Regions from separate parts of the Homo sapiens genome. Here regions 1 and 3 are each linked to region 2. The links are contacts of gene promoters, found by promoter capture Hi-C in human tissues and cell types (Jung and others, 2019). All regions are on one chromosome and are shown on one strand. Each heading gives the region's core, a stretch centred on a gene start or on the middle of the fragment in contact. The rest is flanking DNA. Distances are from core to core; before and after follow the strand shown.

What was found. The method cuts DNA at HindIII sites, captures the fragments that hold promoters and counts their contacts. A contact is called where the count stands out against the background at its distance.
Region 1: a contact is called between the fragment with the promoter of FEM1A here and a fragment that was not itself captured in region 2, in 2 of the 25 tissues and cell types used here (dorsolateral prefrontal cortex and spleen).
Region 3: a contact is called between the fragment with the promoter of MAP2K2 here and a fragment that was not itself captured in region 2, in 1 of the 25 tissues and cell types used here (dorsolateral prefrontal cortex).

The regions. Positions count from the first base shown.
Region 1 is chr19:4,790,274-4,793,078 of GRCh38, forward strand. It overlaps FEM1A (fem-1 homolog A), which reads left to right and starts at 1,461. Exons shown (of 1, transcript NM_018708.3): 1 at 1,461-2,805. The coding sequence starts at 1,582. LOC124904620 (a long non-coding RNA gene) reads right to left here and starts at 1,019. Exons shown (of 2, transcript XR_007067103.1): 1 at 925-1,019. RefSeq lists enhancers at 1,114-1,771, 1,282-1,551, 1,772-2,428, 2,082-2,141, 2,429-2,805. The HindIII fragment of the contact is 32,697 bases long and covers 1-2,805 here.
Region 2 is chr19:4,414,871-4,417,570 of GRCh38, forward strand. All of the region lies in intron 3 of CHAF1A (chromatin assembly factor 1 subunit A), which reads left to right. Among named protein-coding and RNA genes, the nearest start is that of CHAF1A, 14 kb to the left of the region's middle. The HindIII fragment of the contact is 3,051 bases long and covers 1-2,700 here.
Region 3 is chr19:4,122,771-4,125,541 of GRCh38, forward strand. MAP2K2 (mitogen-activated protein kinase kinase 2) reads right to left here and starts at 1,352. Exons shown (of 11, transcript NM_030662.4): 1 at 1,014-1,352. The coding sequence starts at 1,105. RefSeq lists silencers at 945-1,194, 1,385-1,504. The HindIII fragment of the contact is 9,633 bases long and covers 1-2,771 here.

The DNA.
Region 1 (2,805 bases), core at 211-2,710, 380 kb after region 2:
TTTCCCAGGCTGGTCTCGAATTCCTGGGTTCAAGCAATCCTCCCACCTCAGCCTCCCAAAGTGCTGAGATTACAGGTGTGAGTCACCTTGCCCGGCCAAACCTGTCCTCTTTATTAAAAATGCATTTTATTGTATATATATTACACCTCGAATAAACTTTAAAAATAAAGAATTCGGGTCACCAAAGATTTCTTTTTCATAATATAATTCATTGTTGTCAAAAAATGCCAGGGAATGGATCACCTTACAACTGCTAGAATAGCTATCATCAAAAAGACGAAAGGTAACAAACGTTGGCAAGGATTTGAAGAGAACACTTATACACTACTGATGGTAATTTTAATTAGTATAGCCATTATAGAAAATGGTATGGAAGTTCCAAAGAAAAATTTAAAAATAAAACTACCAGGTGATCCAGGAATCCCACTTCTGGGTCTTTATCCAAAGGAATTGAAGTCAGCACGTCAGGCCGGGCATAGTGGCTCACGCCTGTAATTCTAGCACTTTGGGAGGCTGAGGCGGGCGGATCTCCCAAGGTCAGGAGTTCGAGACCATCCTGGCCAACATGGCGAAACCCGTCTCTACCAAAAATACAAAAATTAGCCGGGCGTGGTGGTGGATGTCTGTAGTCCCAGCTACTCGGGAGGCTGAGGCACGAGAATCACTTGAACCCGGGAGGCAGAGGTTGCAGTGAGCCGAGATTGCGGCATTGCCCTCCAGCCTAGGCAACAAGAGCGAGACGCTGTCTCAAAAACAAAAACCAAAACCAAAAAACCCCACAAAGTTATTGAAAGAAATAAATAAAAATAAATACGTAAATAAAAGAAGGAAATTCTGACACATACTAGAATATACATAAATGTATGTAAATGAATAAATGAATATATGAATGTGAGAATAAGAAGTGAGCGCGTCATTTTTTACCGTTCTCCCAGCTCAAAACGTTTTCGCCCCGTCCAGCTTTTCGGCCTCCTCCGGGCGCCCCCTGCCGGTGGGCCGCTTGCCCGTGCTCCAAGCCCAAAACAGACGCGTCCCCTCTAGTCGCTTTTAGCCTTCGGTCTCGGTCCTGATTGGCTCAGAGTCGCTCGTGATCCCTTTTGGGAAATGTAGTCCTTAAGGGTATCGCGCCTGCTTTTTCTATACGCTCTGACGCAGAGATAGCCACGGGAAGTACGTCACCAAATTTCGCCGGTTCCCACAAGCTAGGTCGTGTGACGCTGCATGACGGGAATTGTAGTCCTCAAATTGCTAGCTTCCGATGCCATGCGCTGCGACTGGAACGCCAATTCCCACCATGCCGCGCGCTCACAGCTCTCAGGGGCTGTCCTGTGGCCTTTGGGGAAGTGTAGTCTTGAGCCCCCAAGATTCCTTTTCTGTTCTATGGAGTGGGCCCGCGCAAAGGACTCCATTTCCCGGCGTGCTGCCATCCGTCGGGTCGCGGCAGCCATTTTGTTCCGCCCGAGGAGACCCTAAGATGGCGGCGAGGGGGACGGTGAAGGTTGCCTCCCGCCCGTCCGGGCTCTGATCCTCCGTCTCCCCGTCCCCCGGCGGCCGGCCCATGGCCTGGCGGAGGCCCGAACCATGGACCTCCGCACCGCCGTGTACAACGCCGCCCGTGATGGCAAGCTGCAGCTGCTCCAGAAGCTGCTCAGCGGCCGGAGCCGGGAGGAACTGGACGAGCTGACGGGCGAGGTGGCCGGCGGGGGAACGCCGCTACTCATCGCCGCCCGCTACGGCCACCTGGACGTGGTGGAGTACCTGGTGGACCGGTGCGGCGCGAGCGTGGAGGCCGGTGGCTCGGTGCACTTCGATGGCGAGACCATCGAGGGCGCGCCGCCGCTGTGGGCCGCCTCCGCAGCCGGCCACCTGGACGTGGTGCGGAGCCTGCTGCGCCGCGGGGCCTCGGTGAACCGCACCACGCGCACCAACTCCACGCCTCTCCGCGCCGCCTGCTTCGACGGCCACCTGGAGGTGGTGCGCTACCTGGTCGGCGAGCACCAGGCCGACCTGGAGGTGGCCAACCGGCACGGCCACACGTGCCTCATGATCTCGTGCTACAAGGGCCACCGTGAGATCGCCCGCTACCTGCTGGAGCAGGGCGCCCAGGTGAACCGGCGCAGCGCCAAGGGCAACACGGCCCTGCATGACTGCGCCGAGTCCGGCAGCCTGGAGATCCTGCAGCTGCTGCTGGGGTGCAAGGCCCGCATGGAACGTGACGGCTACGGCATGACCCCGCTGCTCGCGGCCAGCGTGACGGGCCACACCAACATCGTGGAGTACCTCATCCAGGAGCAGCCCGGCCAGGAGCAGGTCGCAGGGGGAGAGGCTCAGCCTGGGCTGCCCCAAGAAGACCCCTCCACCAGCCAGGGGTGTGCGCAGCCTCAGGGGGCTCCGTGCTGCAGCTCCTCCCCAGAGGAACCACTGAACGGGGAATCTTACGAAAGCTGCTGTCCCACCAGCCGGGAAGCTGCCGTGGAAGCCTTGGAATTGCTGGGAGCTACGTATGTGGATAAGAAACGAGATCTGCTTGGGGCCCTTAAACACTGGAGGCGGGCCATGGAGCTGCGTCACCAGGGGGGCGAGTACCTGCCCAAACCGGAGCCCCCACAGCTGGTCCTGGCCTATGACTATTCCAGGGAGGTCAACACCACCGAGGAGCTGGAGGCGCTGATCACCGACCCGGATGAGATGCGCATGCAGGCCCTGTTGATCCGGGAGCGCATCCTCGGTCCCTCGCACCCGGACACTTCCTATTACATCCGTTACAGGGGTGCCGTGTACGCCGACTCGGGCAATTTCGAGCGC
Region 2 (2,700 bases), core at 81-2,580:
GGTTTTCTCTTTTCCCCCCTGCCTCCGCTCCCCTGCTGTCAGGTTTTAGCGGCTTATCTGGTCTGGGCTTAGAAATTAGATACCCTTTAGTATAAAATCAGAGTCCATAGGCTCTGAGAGGATTATCTGAGAAAGGGTGCAGGAATTTTCATGCCCACACATAGTGAGCTCTGTCGCGACTCCTTGGGATTGTCGGTTTTTGTGTTTTGGCTTCCTTCTGGGATCCTGGATCACGTTTTTGGCAGTTGAGGGTGCTGTCTGACCGGGCTCCAGCTGGGTAGAATGTGGGAGTGTTGCATAGAATTTTGAGAGTGAGATCTATAAACACTTGGGTCAAATTTCAAGAAGATAAAGTTCTGTCAGACTTCAAGGTCCATCTGAGGGTTTGGCAAAGCAAAAAAGATACCAGTTTTAAATTAAGCAGTAATTGCTCTGTTTTGGTTGTTGGATATTACTGAGCGGGCTCTTGCCAGTCACATCAAGTCTGTTATCTCTGGACTCACAGCAGAGGGGGGGCATTGTAAGAGGCAGGAGATTCTGCAGCTGAGCTTCAGGCATGGGCAAGACTAAGGAACTGAATTCCCCGCCACCCCAAGACCACATTCCGTATTATAATCTCTGAACACAAAGGGCAGCCCCGGAGAGCTGCGGCTCCCATATTCTGCAGTTAAATCCCTCAGCGTGGGGGAGAGGCACACAGCCTTGGCAGGCAGAGTAGATGCTGGAGAGACAGATGCTTTTTCTGCAGCATTTGGTGAGGCTGCCTCGGGCTGGCATTTCTGTTGCCACATTCTCAGCAAAGACTGAACACCCTGGCCTGATCTCGGTGGTGAAAGAGCTCCTGCCAACACGGGCAGCCTTCTCACAACGGCTCGGCCTTTCCCTAAAGAAAGGTTTAGTCCAGAAAGGACTCAGTGGGACCCAGGTGGAAAGGCTGTCTTGAGCTCATTCATCTGAAGCTTTTATTCTGTGAGAGGTCCTAGTCAGGGGTTCAGCTTTCCCAGATAAAGAAATCACTGTTGGCCGGGCGCGGTGGCTCACGCCTTTAATCCCAGCACTTTGGGAGGCCGAGGCGGGCGGATCACGAGGTCAGGAGATCGAGACCATCCTGGCTAACATGGTGAAACCCCATCTCTACTAAAAATACAAAAAAATTACCCAGGCATGGTGGTGGGCACCTATAGTCCCAGCTACTGGGCAGACTGAGGCAGGAGAATCGCTTGAACCCGGGAGGCGGAGCTTGCAGTGATCCGAGATGGCGCCACTGCACTCCAGCCTGGGCGACAGAGCGAGACTCCGTCTCAAAAAAAAAAAGAAATCACTTACATAATTTTGTTGACCCCTCAGACCATTGCCAGGAAAATGGGCCTTTGGTTTTTCAGTCAACTTCAGTCTTACACTGCAAGTCTGCAATGAACCCGGAGAACTATTTCTTCCCACTCTTAAGCGTCTCTTCCCATTGCTCTTCACTTCTACTAGTTTGGTTTTCAGGATTCCCTGCCCCGGTGGGAGATAGCTTAGGCCAAAGTCCAGACTCCCTGTTCGTCTTCCTTCCTGGGACCATTTAGGTGGATGGTGAGTCACACCATGGATCCTATTGGTAATTCCTAGTAGCTCATGCTCAGTTTGAAGGTAGGTGATAGAAAATATTGTGCCCTAGAAGGTAGAAGTCCTAGAAAACCCCAGCAAGTTTCCCTTTTGTCTTAAGCTTTCACTCCACATTCTAAAAAGCAGAGTTGGCTGGGCGCGGTGGCTCACGCCTGAATTCCTAGCACTTTGGGAGGCGAGGCGGGTGGATCACCTGAGGTCAGGAGTTCGAGACCAGCCTGGCCAACATGATGAAACCCCTATCTCCACTAAAAATACAAAAATTAGCCAGGTGTGGTGGCACACGCCTATAATCCCAGCTACTCAAGAAGCTGAGGCAGGAGAATCGCTTGAACTTGGGAGGTAGAGGTTGCAGTGAGCCGAGATCGTGGCACTCGCTGCACTCCAGCCTCTGTGACAGGAGTAAGACTCCATCTCAAAAATAACATTAAAATAAAAAGCAGAGTTGAGCTAGACAGAATGTAAATTAGTGGTGCACAGGAAACCAGCCTGGAGACATGTTTTATTTGATTAATTTAGTATCTTTTTATTTTTTTTTTAGACAGTCTCACTCTGTCACCCAGGTTGGACAGCTCAGTGCAGCCTCAACCTCCCGGGCTCCTCCCACCCCAGACTCCTGGGTAGCTAGGACTACAGATGTGCACCACAACACCCGACTAACTAAAAGCTTTTTTTAGAGACAGGGTCTTGCTTTATTGCCCAGGCTGGTCTTGAACTCCTGGGCTCAAGTGATCCTCCCGCCTTGACCTCCCAAAGTGCTGGGATTACAGGCATGAGCCACTGTGCCCGTCTGTGTCCATTTTTAAACACCTAAAAAAATTCATATGAAATTCCTAATATCAGCTTCTCTTGGAGAAATTGGAAGGACCAGCAAATAGGGATCTATATTCCTGTAAGAACTCCATCTCCTTTGGACAGGCAGGTCCTCTCTCCTTTGCTACAAATCCATCCTCTCCCTGTCGCCCAGGCCAGCTGTCGCTTTTTTTTTTTTTTTTTTTTTAAGACAGAGTCTCACCCTGTTGCCCAGGCAGGAGTATGGTGGCGCAATCTCGGCTCACTGCAACCTCCTTCTCCTGGGTTCAAGCGATTCTT
Region 3 (2,771 bases), core at 102-2,601, 290 kb before region 2:
CCATTTCACTACTCAGAGACCTACCACCATTCTGCTACTCAGTGACTCCATGCCCTGTCTTTTCCCACAGGGACCTCCCTTGGCCCTATCTCATTATTGAGGGACCCTTACCCCGTCTTTTCCTACCAGGGACCCTACCCCATCTCAGTCTCATTACTCAGGGACCCCTCACCCCATCCTCTCCCCTCTGGAGCCCCCTTGCCCAGATTTCCTCCTCAGGGGCTGCCTGACCTCCCCACACCCCATCCTCTCCTCTCAGGAATGCCCTGCACCCCGATTTCCCTACTCAGGGTCTCCCCTCACCCTCATCTCATGACTACGGCAACCTTTACTCCGTCCTTTCCTCTTAGGAACTCTTCACCCTCATTTCACTACTCAAGGACCCCACACTGTGTTCTCTCCTCTTAGAGATACCCCTCACCCCGATCTCACTGCTTGGGGAGCCTCATCCTGTTCTCTCCTTGGGGACACCCCTCATTCCGATTTTCCTACTGAGGGACTCCCCTCACCCCAGCTTCACTTTTCAGAAGCCCCACACCCCATCTTCTGCACTGCAGGGACCTCCCCTCACTCAACCTCGCTGCTCAGGGACCCCTGTCCCCATCCTCTCCTCTTAGAGACATCCTTCACCCCAACTTCACTACTCAGAGACTCCCGTTATCCCAATTCCACTCTTCAGGAACCCCACACCCCATCTTTTCCACCACAAGGACCTCCCCTCGCCCAATCTCACTGCTCAAAGACCCCCCTGCCCCGTGCACCCTTCGCCCCGTCCTCCGAGGGCCCCCTGCCCCGTCCTCCCCCGAGGGCCCCCTGCCCCGTCCTCCCCCGAGGGTCCCCTGCCCTGTCCTCCCCTCGAGAACCCCCTGCCCCGTGCACCACTCACCCCGTCCTCCCCCGTGACCCCCCTGCCTCGTGCACTCCTCGCGAACCCCCGTCCCCTCGCCCCGTCCTTCCCCGAGGGCTCCCTGCCCCGTGCACCCCAAGCCTCCGGCTGACCCCTGCCCACTCACTCGGAGGCGCCCTCGCTGGTAGGGGATGGGCCCTCGGCGATGGTAGGGTTGATGGTGAGCGCCGGCAGCACCGGCTTCCTCCGGGCCAGCATCGGGGCTCCGCGGGCCGGCGGCGGCGGCGCCTCTAGCCGGGGCCCATAGGGGGCGGGCCGGGAGCGGTCGGCGCCTACGCGAGCCCGGGGCTGCGGCCGCGGCCCAGGCCGGCGTCGGGGCGGCCGAGGGCGGGCGGCGCTGCGGGCCTGGGCCGAGGGTAGCCGAGGGGCGCTGGGGCTGAGGCGAGCGAGCCGCTACCGCTGCCGAGGCCCGAAGAAGGCTGACGCCGCAGCCCGAGTCCGAGAGGCAGGGGGAGGGGAGGGGCGGCCACAAGATCGCGGACCGGCTTCTCGCGATAACGGGATCGGGAGCCGCGATGGACCCCACCCCCAGCCGCCGCGCCTGCGCAGCAGCACAAGGCCGCCTTTCGGAGGGGAAAGGGGCGGAGACCGACGCGAGGCGGTGCCGGGACCGGGCGCCCTCGCTTGCCTTACCACGGCGCGTGTGCCCAAGCGCTTGGGGCATGAGGCGCGGGAGCAGGGGAGGAGACGGAGGGATGAAGGCTGGGGTGATGGTCGTGCACAGGTGGGCAGGGTAGCCAGACTCCTGAGAGCCTGTGGTGCCCCAGGCTGGGGCTGAGAGAACCCGTAAGACCCCAGAACAGTGGACGAGACCCACCCAGAGTCCATTTAATCTTTTTGGCAAGCGTGGACACACGCCCCTAGCCCCCACCGCCTTAGAGTGTCAGTTACTCCCCCTCCTTCATCAGAACAAGGCCACTCTAAAACATTTTTAAAATTTATTTTAATTGACAAATAAAATTGCATATATTACTATGCGCATGTTGAAACATTTTTATTATAAAATACACATAACATAAAACTTGTCATTTTAACCATTTCTAAATGCACAGCTCAGCGGCATTAAGCAACCACCACCACCACCATCTCCAGAATTTTCTCATCTTCCGAAACTGAAACACTGTCCCCTATGAAACCTCACTCCCTATCCCCCTCCCCAGCCCCTGGAACCCAACGTCGTACTTCCTGTGAATCTGATGATTCTAGGGACTTCATATGAGTAGGATCACACAGGTTTTGTCCCTTTGTGGCTGGCATATTTCACTGAGGGCCACGTCCTCAAGGTGCCTGTTGTAGCTGTGTTAGATCCACGTTGTAACCTGTGTTAGAATTTACCCACTTGACTACTCCGGGCATACTTCCAATCGGGTAGCCCTGCTCCAAAAAAGAGCAGAAAAAAAAAAAAAAAGAAAAATTTCCCTTTTTTTTTTTTTGAGACGGAGTCTCGCTCTGTCACCCAGGCTGGAGTGCAGTGGTGCGATCTCGGCCCACTGCAAACTCTGCCTCCCGGGTTCACGCCATTCTCCTGCCTCAGCCTCCCGAGTAGCTGGGACTACAGGTGCCCACCACCATGCCCGGCTAATTTTTTTGTATTTTTAGTAGAGACGGGGTTTCACCGTGTTAGCCAGGATGGTCTCCATCTCCTGACCTCGTGATCCACCCGCCTCGATCTCCCAAAGTGCTGGGATTACAGGCGTGAGCCACCGCACCCAGTCAGGATTTTCCTCCTTTTTAAGGCTGAATAATATTCTATTGTGTGCATGGACTATATTTTGCTTATCCATTTATCTGCCACTAGACACTTCGGTGAATCGTGCCGCTATGAACACAGATGTACAAATATCTGTTTGAGTCCTTGCCTTGA